Regions from separate parts of the Homo sapiens genome. Here regions 1 and 2 are each linked to region 3. Evidence: promoter capture Hi-C in 16 types of primary human blood cells and fetal thymus (Javierre and others, 2016). All regions are on one chromosome and are shown on one strand. Each heading gives the region's core, a stretch centred on a gene start or on the middle of the fragment in contact. The rest is flanking DNA. Distances are from core to core; before and after follow the strand shown. Region 1 overlaps RAPGEF4 (Rap guanine nucleotide exchange factor 4). Region 2 overlaps RAPGEF4 (Rap guanine nucleotide exchange factor 4). Region 3 holds the start of SP9 (Sp9 transcription factor).

Region 1 (2,820 bases), core at 254-2,753, 1.3 Mb after region 3:
TATGGTGTTTTGGGCTAGACATTAGAAAGCCAACGTCTGCTACTTTCTGGAAGACCCCTCACTAAAAGTTTCCATCTGACTTGCTTATCTCAGTTTTATTTTATGAGAAATGATCTAAAGTGTTTTTACTTAGTGAGATGAATGATATGCATATATAGGAAGCACACGTATAATGCAATAGATTTATATATAAATAGGCAACACACACATTACAAAGTTCCAAAAGTCACAAAAGTGGCTGGCACAGTGGCTCACGCCTGTAATCCCAGCACTCTGGGAGGCCAAGGCGGGTGGATCACCTGAGGTCAGTAGTTCAAGACAAGCCTGGCCAACATGGCGAAACCCTGTCTCTACTGAAAATACAAAAATTAGCTGGGCGTAGTGGCATGTACCTGTAGTGCCAGCTACTCGGGAGGCTGAGGCAGGAGAATCGCTTAAACCCAGGAGGCAGAGGTTGCAGTGAGCCGAGATCGTGCCACTGCACCCCAGCCTGGGCGACAGAATGAGACTCCATCTCCAAAAAAATAAAATAAAATAAAAAATAAAAACAAAATGATGCTAACTATATTTAGATACTATCCATGTCAGAAGTCCTAATATTATACAAGTTCCATCATCATTTTCATCATCATCACTGTATTCTACAAACTCCCACTGCATTCTGGGCACTAGAGAAATTACATGTTCTGCAGGTAGACGGTGCTTGCATTTGGAAGTTTACAGTCTAAGAGAGGACCAAGCAAGGTTACAGTTGAAGGGAATCAACCCTGTCTGGCCCATACAGCACTCCACAGAGGCAGCATCTGCTGCTGGTCCTTATTTGCAGGTATAAAGGGACAGAAGCAACAACACATGTGACACCCAGGTACAGAGATAAACAGGAGGGGAACATGAATGAATTTTTGGGAAGTTATTGGGTATTTGGAATGAATGTGTGGTCTGAACAGGATCTTGAAGAAGCTGGGCTTTAAAAGATGAAGCAGACAAGCTTGGGCAGGTGAGAATAGCAAGGTTTTCCCTGAGCATCCAGGATGGTCCCTTGGGGTGGAAGGATGGCAACAAGAGCATGAAGATGGGGAAGCTGTCATGAAACTTGCTTGGCAGGAGCAGAGAGCACAGGGGGTCCCCATGGACAGTGTGAACAGTTAGTAGCACATCTTCGTGTACCAGATTAGGAGTTTGTGTTTTGTAATAGACTAGATAATAGACCAGGTTAGTGTCAGCTTTAGAGAGCAAGTGACTCTGAATATAAACCCTACTCTAACTGTGTAGACTTGGATTGATTCCCTAATCTCTTGAGTGTCTGTTTCCAGCTCTGGTAAATTGGGGTCATGATACCTATACCTAGGCTTGTTAAGAGAACTGGATAGGAGTGATTTCAGTGAATCATGTAAATACAGTGCCTGGCACAAAAGAGGTCCCCTCCCCCAAATCAGTTCACTTTCTAGAAGTGCTGCAGCAGGCCGGGCGCGGTGGCTCACGCCTGTAATCCCAGCACTTTGGGAGGCCGAGGCGGGCGGATCACGAGGTCAGGAGATCGAGACCATCCTGGCTAAAACGGTGAAACCCCGTCTCTACTAAAAATACAAAAAATTAGCCGGGCGTAGTGGCGGGCGCCTGTAGTCCCAGCTACTTGGGAGGCTGAGGCAGGAGAATGGCGTGAACCCGGGAGGCGGAGCTTGCAGTGAGCCGAGATCCCGCCACTGCACTCCAGCCTGGGCGACAGAGCGAGACTCCGTCTCAAAAAAAAAAAAAAAAATAATAAAAAAAAGAAGTGCTGTAGCAATGCAAATACACAGAAAAGTGTGATCAGTACAACACCTGGATGTAGGAGCGAAATACTGTTGCTCCCAATTTACTCTACACAGGGGACAGAGGACAGGGAAGAAAAGTGATTCCAAAGTTTTAAATCTTAGGGAACTGAACCGAAGCTGATGGGCAAGTAGCATATGGAAACAAATGAGGAGAATGATTTCAACCAGGGTAGGTCCTAGGTAAAAAAAGTTGGGGAAGCTTATACATTTTAGGGTTTACGACTGCCTCTCAGAGGATCAAACTGGCCTTGCACGTTCTTCCTTCCCTCTTGCAGCTGCTGTGAACACAGCCCTTCTGCTGCTCTGCGGAGCTGCCCCTCCTACGTTATTCCTGCTGTTTGCTCTCTCCTCAGGATTGGAGATACCCAGTACACCTTGCTCCTTCTTTTCCTTGAGGCTTTATAACTTTACATAAGGGGGACAAGTTTACCTAACAACACAGGGAAGAGTCTAATATTAAGAAATATGCAAAGTTCTTTTAGTCGTGGATGCTGGTCTATCACTCCTGCAACCCTTTTGAGAGTAACGGAAAGCTCTGTTGAGTCTCAACTTTTCTTTCAGTGGGCAGGGCTCACCAAGTCTCTCTCCCGGCGTAGGGCAGGTTGACCCCTTCCATGAGCCACGGAAGAGGCAATGTGAGCAGCAAAAGGTGCTTCTCCCTTAGAAGTGGGGAATATAAATGCTCACCCTGGACCCCAGAGGAAGCGCCTCCTTGGGCCATTTTCTTGTACATAGCCCTGTGGAAATGTCCTACAGATAAGGCACAGCAGAGCTTATGTGGAGCCTGCATCGCACAGACAGATCTGAAAGCTGCTTACCCACAGACACAGAACTCCCATGCATTTTCTCCCCACGGTTTTTGAGCCATGATTTCTTTGCTAAGGCTGGAGAGGGGTAATTGGGAGAGTAGCATTGTTATCCTCCCATTTTCCAGATGAGGAGACTAAGACATAAAAGGGATGTGTGGATTGTCAGTGACAAAGAGATGGTGAAGGTAAGCTACCCG
Region 2 (2,700 bases), core at 179-2,678, 1.3 Mb after region 3:
CCTGCATCAGAGTGACCAGTACAAAGACAGCATCCAGAGGAAGGGGTGACCACTGTCTGCACCTCGGCCTGGCACAAGCCAGAGGCTCTGAGGCCGGCATCCCAAACACAAATTTCCCTCAAGCTCTGATGCAGGGAATTTCCCTTGAGTCCGCTGAGGTGTCAGAGGTACCTTGTTCTCAGACTGGGCCTTTGCGGCCTGGCTCTTGGCAGGCGTCACCCTTCTGTGGTGTCCTCCCCTCAGGAGCAGGCCAGCCAAGTTCCACTTTCACTCCTATAAAGACATGACATAGCCTACCAGGACTTTGTGGCTGCCCCCACCTTCCTAGCCAGCTTGCACTGACTCTTGTGCCCTAGTCCAAGTTCCCCCTTTGCTCTCCCACTGCGGAAGAGAAGACTTCATTCTTCAAGTTCTGACCGGCAGGCCCTCCAGGCCACGCCACCTCATTGGTACCACTCTAGGACCTCCCGCTCCCAGACAGCGGCCACAATAGCCTTCCTCTTAGCCTATTATTCTGCCTCTGCTCAGATCCCTCAGGAAGCGGCTCCTCACCGTCAGGCCTCTTCTAAATGCCTGCCCTCAACAGTTTTGATCTTCCTTCTGTTGCCCCTTAAGATCTGTACCATCCTTGCTCTTAATGTTTGCCAGATTGCTTTTTCTTACATTTCTGCCTCTACCGATTTGATTCTGTCTCCAGACCTATGCCTATCAAATATAGGACCTTTGTTAATTACTCCTTGCTTAGCATGTGTAAAACCACATTTACACCATTTGATTATTTCACTCAGACCTCCACATATTTGGGACAAGAATTTTTTTTTTCACAAGATCCAGAAATACACAGTGTCTCACCTAACAAAGATTGTGCCTGTGATAGCAACCAAATGGCCAGGCACAGTGAGGACCAGAGATAAAAGGGAATTGAAGCTGAACTAGCCTTCACTGTGTGCATCATTGAGGAGGAGCCCTGAGTCCGGTCTCCCTACAGATCTTTAGTATCCAAGAGGTGTATGACATGCAGATACGCATGTGTAACACATGCATGATGCTTACGGTATGTGGTATATATGATGACCATGGGAGAAGACAGTTCAGGTGCCTTTCCAGGCACGTGTAGAGCATGTATACCTCTATGTACTCAGGGAGGGACACTGGAGGACAGACACAGCACCACAGGGAGGAGGGGGGACAGAATAATGTCTGGTTAGGAACAGAGGCTAAGGGAAAGTCATCTTTTATAATGTCTCAGTTATGCAAAATGCTTTGGGACATTTTGGTTAATCCAATTTTCTTTCCCTTTTTTTTTTTGATTTGGAGTCTTACTCTATTGCCCAGGTTGGAGTGCAGTGGCACGATCTCGGCTCACTGCAACCTCTGCCACCTGGGTTCAAGCAATTCTCCTGCCTCAGCCTCCTGAATAGCTGGGATTACAGGCGCCCGCCACCATGCCTGGCTAATTTTTGTATTTTTAGTAGAGATGGGGTTTTACCAGGCTGGTCTTGAACTCCTGACCCCATGATCCACCCGCCTCAGTCTCCCAAAGTGCTGGGATTACAGGCGTGAGCCACTGTGCCCAGTTGATTCATCCAATTTTCTAATAAAATAGAAGACACTTTTGGATTTATTACATAAAATATTTGAAAAATGCTTTCGTGCACTAAGCCCAACACTGAAACATTACATTTTATTCAACAAGTACTTCTTGCATACTTACGATGTGCCAGACATTTTTATGGGTGCTGGGGAAATAATGCGTCAGATATTTTTATGGTGCTGGAGAAATATCAGTGAACAAAACAGATACCTGGGCCAGGGCACTTACATTCTGGTAGGGAAGACATTGAAGAGGCAGGAAGATAATCCCAGGCTGTGAAACCCCTATCAAGGCAAGGTTGTGTTGGAGAGTGCTGGGTGTCGCAGAACGGTGTTACACGGAGGTCAGGCACAGTTAGCACCACAGGGAGGAGGGGAGATCAGGGAAGATGTGTGATCTTCTTCCCTTCCCACAAGGGTGGTTAGGGAAGACTATTTTGGAGGAGGGGACCTGTGAGCTGAGGCCTGACTGACGAGGAACCAGACAGCAGACAACTGGGGGAAGACAATTTCAGGCAAAGGTAACAGCTAGTACAAAAAACCCTGAGGCCAAAAGGAGAAGAAGGCAGGTCAGTCTCACCAACTTGGACTGGATACAGAGAAGACAAAGTGTCAGATGAGGCTGGACAGGTGCTTAGGGCTAGTCTAGATCTTCTGATATTATGTCACTGCATATAATGTGGTTTTATTTTCCATTGATAAAACTGCATGAAGTTTTCTTTCCTGCATTTTGCTTTCTGACATCTTTTATTACTATTGTGACCTAGTTTTTATATCTTATGTGGATTTTTAATATTTCATGTGTTTATGTTTTCTCTTCCCAACTGCAGGTAATCTAAAGGCCCAGGGTTACTTTCTAGATGTTTATATTTCTTAGTAAATTCTTTTGCCTGGACACTCCACACATTATGTTGTTTTGAAGCATACCGTTTGGAAATCTGCATTTAGCCTGGCCTGGGAAATCTATACAAAGATGTAAACTCTCAAAGTACTCCCATAGATTTCTTTTGTGTTGGAGAGCTCTGGGAATAGGGTGGACTTGAACACGTAGATTTTTACTTAGAGATTCTTTTTTTCCATAGATTGAGGTAACAAGTGAAGTGCTCT
Region 3 (2,700 bases), core at 184-2,683:
AGGCGGACGACGTGGGCGACGTGGAGGCCAGGCAGAAGGCGCTGTTGGCGGCGCCCGAGCCGCCCGCCAGGCCGCCCGAGCCACGGCCCCCGGTGGCCACCGCGAAGCCCGAGAGGCTGGAGCCGAGGTTGCAGCTGGACGAGGAGCGCTTCCAGGGGTGAAAGCCGCCTTTGGCGAAGGCGCTCGACTCTGGCAGCGTCGTCAGCGGGCTCGTGTTGCCGATCTTGTTGCAGGTCGCCGCCAGCATGGCCAACGGGGTCGTTCCGAAGCGCGGCTCTTCCTAGAGTGGGTGGGATGGGGGAGGGAGCAAGAAGGAGGAGGGCAAGAGGAAGTGGGGGAAGAAACAAAGTGCACCCGTGAGCAGCCTCGTCCCCTGCGGCTGCTCCCGGGGGGTCCTGGCTCCCCGCCTCGCGCCTCCTCCCCACGCGCCCGCGGAGGAGTCGCCGCACCGGGCGCGGAGCAGGGGCGATCACCCGGGCGAAGGTCCAGGCGCCGGAAAGTTGCACTTCGCTGAGGCTATAAATCAAAGATGCCTCCGTGTTCCCCGCTGCAACCCTGCCTACAACCGGACTTGGGTTGTCGCCGTAAACCGGCTCATCTCCCAGAAGACCCCAAGTCGCCCTTCGGGGTGAAGCGCGAAGGTAAACACAGAGACCAGAGACAACAAACACCGGGTGAGGGCGGAGGCGGCCGAAACAGCTGCCAGGGACGGGCGAAACTTGCAGCTCTCCCAGGGTGGCTACGACTTGACTTTTCTTTTTTAATAGAAAACGTTTGGTTTTAAAGTTTACATACACACAAAAACAGCGATTATGAAAACAATAATCCGAGGATAAGCGGCCAGAGACAGATTTCAAAGTCATGGGCGAATTGGGGAGCCGCGGAAATGTAAATGTTTATTAGCGTGACTAGATGGACTGCAAAACGATTAAGACTGTTTTCTGGAAACACCATTGTCGCATAATTGCAACAAAATCCCCAAAGCAATGCGGGGGATGGGGTATAAATCACGAGGGGAAGAAAAGAAACCTCTAGCTTTTTTTTGAAACCAAATGAAAAAGGACTTGATTAAGAAGGCCTTTTCTTGCAAAGGCATCTTTCTGGGTTCCAAAAACTTGGGGAAAAATCAGTCCCAGAAATGTGGAAAGTGCTAATAGAAGCTGAAGCTGCAGTCTAGCAGCAACAGTTTCTCCGGAGCCGCAGACCCCAGAAGCCATAACGAAAAATTACTCCGGTTAAAACAAGCAAATGCGTTGCCGCGCTTGCGACTTACCCCGAGTATAGACGTGGCCATAGCAGGTCTCTGGCTGCGCAGCGAGGCTGGGAGCGGGGCTGAGCCTGGCGGCTGCTCGGAAAAACTGCTTGGGTCCCGCGCGGCTCCCGCGTCCCCGCGCTCGTGCCGAGCGGACTCCAGGCTCCCGCCGGCTAAACTCAGCCTAAGTGCGAGGAGCACCCGCTTTGAAGTGCCGCTGGCTGCGCCTCTCGCCCAATGAGGGCGCAGGCAGAGCAGACCGGAGCTGCCCCGCAGCCAATCAGACGCTCCGAGGGGCCCGAGCCCGGGCTCCCGGCGCGTGCCAGTCAAGTCAGCTAGCTAGGGCCGCGGGGGTGGGGGGGAGTAGTGGGGGATACTTGCGGGGGGGGGGCGAGGGCGGGCTGGGGACTGAAGAAATTACAGTGCAATTAAAAATTTACACTCACGCACCAAGCCAGGTTTAAGTACCAATGAAACCGAGCCACAAGCACCCCCCCACACACAAACCACCCCGAGATGTTGCAAGTTAGGGCTGACAGTCCTACTCGACTCCCCACTTGTAGGAAAGGAGGCAGGAGGGGAGGAGACACCCAGACACAGCCCGCACCAGCAGGGCCCAAGTGGAGACGGAAATGTGAGCCCTCACTTTGTGTGTCCAGGCTTTTGCCTACAGAACACAACTTCAGCTTGTATCTATCATTCTTGCTTGTGATTTTTATCATTTTCGTGTGTCTTCTACCCAATTCCTTATTCCACTAGATTCAATTTCACTCTCACAGTTATACTGGGGAGGGGGCGCGAAGGGACAGCTCCTCCGAGAGGAGCGAAATAGGCCTCTCTGTACAGATCTACATCCACAGATTTGTTGGGAGGGCCTGGAGCCTGCTGCATCCCGCCATTTCCCCCCAGCGGTGTAAGTGACTTCCTAATTGTCGCTCTGGCCTCTGACCCGGGGGGTAATACAAGTGCCACTCACGCTAGAGGCTTCTGGTGGTAATTGAGGGCACCCTTTGTACGGTTTCGCCAGCGCTTAGATACCAGGTTAACCCAGTTGTCAAATATGACTAAACAGTGGGATGTGCTGATTATCTGCCGGGTTTTGCTGTGGGCTGGCATGGGGGTGGGAGGCATCAGCCCATACAACACGCTGCACGAAGCCGCTTATTTTCTCACTGTAACAACTTTGGAAACAGAGACCGGCGCGAGCGGCGTCCGCCCCCACCTCCACCTCCGCTGAAGCTGCAGCTTGCTCGGCTGTTTGTTTAACCCGGTGAAGATTTGCATGTCGCGTTTCATCCTGGAGTGGAGTTTTCTTGTCCCAGCTCCAACCCACTCCCATTCCAGACCACCAGGGCCTAGAGGCTCGTCCGTAGGGCAAGTGCGCTGTTTTAAGAGGTAGGCTCCCCATTAGTGCCCTGCTTTCACGGACGCGCCCGAGAAATCTCTCC

Evidence for each region. Contacts are between HindIII fragments. The CHiCAGO score rates a contact against its expected background, and 5 or more counts as called.
Region 1: a contact is called between a fragment that was not itself captured here and the fragment with the promoter of SP9 in region 3, in 9 of 17 cell types (naive B cells, naive CD4 T cells, naive CD8 T cells and 6 more). The highest score is 15.4, in naive B cells.
Region 2: a contact is called between a fragment that was not itself captured here and the fragment with the promoter of SP9 in region 3, in 2 of 17 cell types (neutrophils and naive B cells). The highest score is 6.9, in neutrophils.

Annotation. Positions count from the first base shown.
Region 1 is chr2:173,023,158-173,025,977 of GRCh38, reverse strand. The region is part of intron 23 of RAPGEF4 (Rap guanine nucleotide exchange factor 4); the gene reads right to left. Among named protein-coding and RNA genes, the nearest start is that of MAP3K20, 51 kb to the left of the region's middle. The HindIII fragment of the contact is 1,025 bases long and covers 991-2,015 here.
Region 2 is chr2:173,041,231-173,043,930 of GRCh38, reverse strand. The region is part of intron 29 of RAPGEF4 (Rap guanine nucleotide exchange factor 4); the gene reads right to left. Among named protein-coding and RNA genes, the nearest start is that of MAP3K20, 33 kb to the left of the region's middle. The HindIII fragment of the contact is 8,888 bases long and covers 1-2,700 here.
Region 3 is chr2:174,333,687-174,336,386 of GRCh38, reverse strand. It overlaps SP9 (Sp9 transcription factor), which reads right to left and starts at 1,433. Exons shown (of 2, transcript NM_001145250.2): 1 at 1,274-1,433; 2 at 1-280. The coding sequence starts at 1,294. It overlaps LOC102724194 (a long non-coding RNA gene), which reads left to right and starts at 1,411. Exons shown (of 3, transcript XR_427194.5): 1 at 1,411-2,647. The HindIII fragment of the contact is 13,141 bases long and covers 1-2,700 here.